2 separate regions of the Homo sapiens genome follow, and region 1 is linked to region 2. Evidence: promoter capture Hi-C in 16 types of primary human blood cells and fetal thymus (Javierre and others, 2016). All regions are on one chromosome and are shown on one strand. The core of a region is centred on a gene start or on the middle of the fragment in contact, and the rest is flanking DNA. Distances in the headings are between cores, read along the strand shown. Region 1 overlaps CALB1 (calbindin 1). Region 2 holds the start of LRRC69 (leucine rich repeat containing 69).

The links. The method cuts DNA at HindIII sites, captures the fragments that hold promoters and counts their contacts. A CHiCAGO score of 5 or more calls a contact.
Region 1: a contact is called between a fragment that was not itself captured here and the fragment with the promoter of LRRC69 in region 2, in 1 of 17 cell types (neutrophils). The highest score is 6.9, in neutrophils.

What each region holds. Positions count from the first base shown.
Region 1 is chr8:90,063,971-90,067,441 of GRCh38, reverse strand. CALB1 (calbindin 1) reads left to right here. Exons shown (of 11, transcript NM_004929.4): 6 at 1,467-1,544. It overlaps LOC124901976 (a long non-coding RNA gene), which reads right to left. Exons shown (of 2, transcript XR_007061004.1): 2 at 1,160-1,403. Among named protein-coding and RNA genes, the nearest start is that of CALB1, 17 kb to the left of the region's middle. The HindIII fragment of the contact is 1,924 bases long and covers 708-2,631 here.
Region 2 is chr8:91,101,074-91,104,493 of GRCh38, reverse strand. LRRC69 (leucine rich repeat containing 69) reads right to left here and starts at 1,875. Exons shown (of 8, transcript NM_001129890.2): 1 at 1,650-1,875. The coding sequence starts at 1,832. The HindIII fragment of the contact is 4,824 bases long and covers 1,261-3,420 here.

The DNA.
Region 1 (3,471 bases), core at 420-2,919, 1.0 Mb after region 2:
AGATCCTTTTTAGTTCATAATGAAAACCTTAGCTCATTTCCAATACTGACCTCTAAATATTCTAAAAGCCTCCTTCTTTGTTCTAAATTTTATTCTCAGAAAGAGATTCTAAATAGAAGTCCTCTTCCCTGGGGAATTTTGAAGATAAGTTGGCATTCTTTTTTAATGGATCTTTCAAGAAAGCTAATTTTAAGATCCATAATAGAGTAAAACATCACTTGCTCTCAGACACGACTTTGAATCTCTGCGTCCCAAGGTTTCTCCGAGGCTATTTTTGTGACCACCATTTTAGTCTCTGATGAGGCTTTTTAACCCAATTAATCTCTGACAAAAGCCCCAGAAGGCTCAAAAATAAAATTCAACCCCAACAGATAACTTTGAATTTTCCATGCTTCACTTTGGATTTGAAGTGGAATATTTGAAGTAAAAAATTTTTATCAAACTAAGAAAAGAGTCTCTTTCCTTTAAAAAAGTGGCATCAAATCAGCCCAGAACTGGAACATTTAGGAGAGAGATAAGTCATTGCTAAATCAAAGAAATCTAATCCTTCAATAATATCTGGGCACAGTATCTGCCTAGTTTTTCCTAATTGCATTAATTCATTTTCTGAGAAAATAAAGGAGTTACGAATGAATAGCACTAAACAAAATGAATGACTATTATAAAGTGCTTACACTGTCACTTATATGGCAAATCTTTGTAAAGCTTTTATTTATGTTTCTGTTAAAAAAACTTAAATTCATTCCTAAGCTCCAGGTGTCAAGTTAATAATCATCTTTTTTTCATCCTTCCCACATTAATCTCTATTTTAATATGATTCATATATCTTTCAAAGATTCAATGACATCAACTGTGGCCAATTTTGTTAATTTAAATAGTCAGTGGAAGCATTTTAACCAAAGTGCTTTGGACTGCATTAGGCTAAAAACTACCCAACTGGCCCTCTGGAGAAATAAGCATCATGCTGGCTATAAACTAATGTGTAAATACAGCCTGGGGAGCAGAAAATGGATTTGAAATTAGGGATAGATCTCTATTTGGTTTACTGATATTTTTTCACAATATTCCAAAGGTATAAAGGCCCTTGTGTTTCTTGCAGAACAATCCAATGAGTACTTGTGAAGATATCAGTAAGAAGAAATGCATCCATTGGGCTGGCTGGTTTTAAAAGGTTTTATTCAGGTTAATTGAAATCATAAAGTCATGGTAATGCACAGACAATGATCAATCAAGTCTCAGTAAAAAGCAGGTATTATTCCTGTCAAAGGTAGTTTCATTGCTGGAATGCCAGGAGGACAACCTGGTTTAGTCTTTCTTCTATTATAAGTTCCTCTACTCACCTGCTTCTACCCCTCAAAAGGAGACTTTCTTTGCATTCCTGGTATGTCCTGTTCCAAGGCATTCTGAAATGAAAGTAGACGATATATTATTAATGAAATTAATCTAAGTGTTCTTTGTTTTAACAGAACTTTCTAAAGGACCTGCTAGAAAAAGCAAACAAGACTGTTGATGACACAAAATTAGCCGAGTATACAGACCTAATGGTAAGACTGATCTTGAAAAGATTGTACCCAAGAGCTCATGAAGTAGTATGATGTTCTTGCTAACTCCCAAGGCTACACAGGATGAAATAAATAAACGGTGGTGTGGGCATCATATGCACATAGGTATCATTTCATTTGAAAAGTGAAATACTTAGGGATGCTTACATCTTGTCATTTTGAGTTCTGCAGGCATTGGCTTTAAGACTCAACATATGAGCATTTTCTTCCTTGTAGAGCTGTGTAATTTTTATCTATCAAAAGATGACTTGTTTTGCTTCCAAAGCCAGTGTAATTATATCACTAAATTATATAACTTACACATATATAAGGTACACTATATATATATAAATTATATCACCAAAAACTCACTTATTATAGAGTTCCTAAATCCATTTTTATCATAGTTTGGGAAATCACACTTTGTTGAGTTTAAAGAGACCATCTAGCTACTTTATTAATTAAGCAAGTTAAAATGGGTCTCCTTCTTTCTTTTGATTTTTGTTGTTTTGGGGTTTTGTATTGGTGCTTTGAATGAGGAAATCTAAATATGCCCTAAGGTTGATGCTATGGTAAATAGTGACAACTAAGATCAATTATAGAATGTTGATAATAGAGCCAAGAAAACTGCTTTACACATAGGCACTTACTGTTTCAGGAAAAAAAAAAGAGCAGATAAATAAGGTTCCAGATAAAATAAACCAATGTCTATGAAGTTAGTTTCTATTGGACGAAGTTTGCTCATTTTGACTCATCACAGAATTAGGATTACCAGGAGATAGATATATTTATACAGCTTTCAGTACTGTGAAGGTACTGTGAATTCTTACTCCATGGATTTACATCAATAAACCATAAACATGGCTCTATACTATAAAAGCTACTGTTATATTAGATTGAAGAAGGAGTTAGACTTTTTAATTACTCTGAGAAACAATCTAATAAAGGGTTTGATTATATTTGATGTAACTGAGGTTTGCTTTCAGCATCTCAGCTTACTTTTATCTGGGTTGGGGAGGGGGAACTACTAGAACTTTACTATTGCCTTATTCACTAACTAGTGTTATTTATTATAAGGTGGGGCTAAGCTTTAATTTCAAAACAACCAAAAAGGTTTTCATGGTCATCTTTAATTCCTCATTACATCTCCACTTACAATAGCACTAGCAAACAAATGGGGGAGAGTTTCTTGCTATGTGTCACAATCAACAGGTCTAAGCTCTGAATAACTTTTAGGTAATGGACAATAACCTACATTTATCAATTTTCTATTTTGTTCCAATCTTAAGGGATGCCTATTTAAAGAAAGGCTCCTTTCCAGGTAGAATATTGAAGCAGCCTTTCAAAACCCACTCAGATGGGAGTTTCCCTCTGTTGGATTGGCCTGACATATCTGATTAAATGTCATAAACCAGTTCAAATCCAGGAAGCAAATTAATCGAGAGCTAATTAAAATTTAAATATATATGTTGGGAAATATTTCCCCATGGGCACAAAACTAAGTAATCGAGCTGTCCAGTATCTTGGTAGGTAGTGTGACAATATCAGAATTTATGGTCAATGGATTATAAAATGTTTTGTCAGCATGGGATCCTGAAAAAAATCTGCCTCCTACAAAAGATTCTTAGAATACCTCGAACCACAGAATGCCCTTCCTTTCCTTCTTAAAAAGATGTCACTAAATCTATATCCATTATAACACTGGACACATTCTGTTCTTTAAAAACAAAAATAATGTTAATTTTTCACATATTTAGTGTTCATTTAGTATACACATTTTATATATTTAATGTAATTCATATATACTACTTTGGTATAACATATTATAGCAATAGTTGCTACTATCTAAAAAGGTGAATGCTTCCCAAATACGGGTATGAGTGTGTTTACATCTGGATGTGTCTTTGTGAATGACGTATATATAAGTGCA
Region 2 (3,420 bases), core at 626-3,125:
TCCAAGGGAACAAAAATGGCATATAAGAAAGAAAATATAATCATAGATTAATTGACTCCATGTGAATATTTATTTATTAGTAATATATATTTTTAGAAGTTTAGAGTTACCCAAGACACAAAACAAATATTTAATTATGGTTATAACTGAATAGGATATAAAAGCTGTAAGTGTTATAAAAGTAAAAACTTCAGAGTTTGTGAGGGGGGAGAGGAAAGGACAGCTGAAGGTGGATTACAAAGGCTGACACTGTCATCTTACGAAGTGGGGAGTCAAAAGAGACTGCAGTTGATGAAGGAAGAAATAAAGGTGTAGTAACATTACATGTAAAAGATACCTGTAGACCTAATCCCCTGATTCCAGATGTGGATCAATACACAATAGATACATTAATATAACTGTATCTAGAAGATGAAGAAAAATGATGCCAAAAATAGACAAATCAATAAAATAGATGAGTTAAAAGTGGTTATATATGGAGATCGGGATTGAGGATGAGGGGAAGTGGGATAGAAGATAGCTTCTTGCTATAAGCTTTTTGTAATATTTAATTCTCGGTAACCAATGGTTAGTACTACTTTAATGGAAATAAATTCAAATAGAGGGAGAGAATAGGTTCATGACTCAGTCAAGTCCCAAATTCTTTTGCAAAGAAACTCCTCTTTCCTATTAAAAAATTCCAAGTCCTTGTTGTCTTGTAACTACAAGTATACCTTCTGCAATTACTAATGAAGGGGGACTTTGTAAAAGTTACCCTATTTCTTATAAAGATACAACTACAGATTACAAACTCAATTTCTTAAACGTAAAAGGAAATGAGGTAGGGTGAAAGTAAGAAAATACAGATTTATTTTTTGGAACTGTAAATTCAAAATTAATGAGCTATAACGCCTTAGCTGCTTCTAGGTTCTTCCTGTGCTGATGACAATTCAGCAGTGAACAAAAAGAAAATTACAAAGTTAATATCCCTTGCCTTCTCTCAACCTCAAGATTTTTGGCAGCTAGAGTTTCACATTGTTAGGCAGAAAGGTTTAACACAAGCATATGGGATTCATTCATGTCAACTATTCCTCTTTAAAAAAGAATATTTTTTATTTAAAATATTAAACTTCCTTTAAAGACTATTTCAGGAGAAATAAATGTCCCCTCCTTCCTATTCCCTGCCAACACTCCATTTCAAAGTTTCAGCCTGCCCTAGGAAATTGAAAAGGAACTCCCTTGCTGCATCCTAAATGTCTCTTCATTCTAAATGCAAAAGCTTCAGGACAGTCCCCAGGGTGAACAGCATCTCCTGGATCCTCAAAACTACTTCCAGATGTAAGCCCCCAAGATAGACGACCAGATCCAGGTTTCCAACCCCTTTCCAGATGACAGCCTCTAAAAAGATGAGTGTGGCAGAGACCTAGTCCCCTGACTCCAGATGTGGGCCAAAGAGCACATGAATAAATTGAAACATCTCTCCCTACCACATGGAATTCCCTAAGGGAGAAAGCCTTCTGATGCCTCTCCAGCAACACTCCACATTAAGTCTCCAGATACCTAAGTCTCCATAGATCGAAGTGTTATTGTTCTGTCTCTTACCCCTTTTTTCTCTCTTCCTGTTTTCCATCTTCAATACCAAACCACAACAGCAAAACACTGTTCCTCACCTGGGTCAAGTTGCATAACTCTGGACACACTTTGGGGATTAGGTTATTCTGAAGGACTAGAGTCTTCAGGCCAGGCAGTTTTCCTAATGCTGAGGGCATCTTTGTCATCTTCTTCCCATTCAAAGTAATGATCTTCGTATTTTTACCACCACTCAATGCTTTTATTAACAATCTCTCAGTCATGATCTTGGAAAAGAAGTAGAAAACAAGGTAACCATTAGAGTTCTTTATTATACAGCTTTAGAACCTCTAATTACAGAATTGGTGTGTCATAGAAACAAGAACATTCTGAGATCCACCATGTTGAAGGGGGGAAGCATTAGATTATTTTCCTATGTGAAAGATACGAAAGGAAAGTAGATGGTCCAGGTTTGGGGCAGGAAATGTATAATGTAAGCCTAAAATAGCTTATGCCTGCGATATTAAAGCTATCAGAGATTAATGAGGACACAGAAGTGAACTTCTAGGAGCTCCCACTAGTCTAAGATGGAAAATATTAAGGATCAGAAAGAAATAATCTAGAATAGACTGAAACATATCAAAACACATTAAAATCTGAGTTCATAATGGCATTTTTTAAAAAGAAACATTACTCACCCTGGGAATTACTAGCGCACCAACTCAGTCTGAAAATTGATAAAGGAAAAAATATAAGCATTTATTCTGCTTTTCCAGTACAAACTGCACTTAAATATAACTTAATAGTTAATAAAGTTCTTATTCACAAGAATTGAAACTAATAAATGAGAAAGACAAAATAACTAGAATAATCACAATTTTTGCAAATTCTAATAAAATAATGGAGCTATGCAAAAATCATAATTGGAGACTGAAAGTATTAGATGAAAGGTTGATGAGGAACTTTATAATCAAGTGATCAGGTTAATAACCCACTAATCATTTTAGCATCAATAAAATTGAGACAATCACATTATAAGCCTTATGAAGTAATGAATTAAAAAGTACACAGCAGCACCACCTATGAAATGTTCCTGTCCAAAAATTAAATCTGAATCTAATCATGGCTTCAAGATCTAACTACCATTTACAAAAAAACAGAACTAGAGAATAAGTTAAGTTCATTATAGGGAAACAGTCAAATCTATAACATGGAAGATTCTACAGGACTGGTCCCTGGTCCAATGTCACAAGGTTTCACCAACAAATGAAAGACATTAATAAAAAGGAGGGAAAACTGTTACGATGTAAGTGAAACTTAGGGCAAATAACAGCTAAATGCAATGTCTGGACTGTATTTGAATCCTCAGTTGAATACAAACATCTCAGGGAAATTTGTTCATCGGCTATTAGATGAGAGAAATTAATTCTGTTACATGTGAAAATGGTATGGTGGTAGTATTTATTTTAAATGTGCTTAACATTCAGAAATGCATACTGAAATTTTCAAGTGAAATAAAATGATATCTTGAGTTTTTTTAAAAATAATCTAGGGGGGAAAGTGGGTGGAAGAAACTGATCAAACAAGATTGACAAAATGTTGATAATTATTAATGCTGAGTAATAGACACATAGGGGTTTGTATTTGTCCATTCTCGCACTGCTATAAATACCTGAGACTAGGTAATTTATAAAGAAAAGAGGGTTAATTGGCTCACAGTTCTGCAGGCTATACAGGAAGCATGGTGCTGGCATCTGCTCAGCTTCTGGGGAGCCCTAAGGAAGCCTACAATAATGGTGGAAGGCAAAGGGAGAGCCAGCACTTCACATGGCCAGAGCTGGAGGAAGATAGGAAGGAGGTGCTACACACATA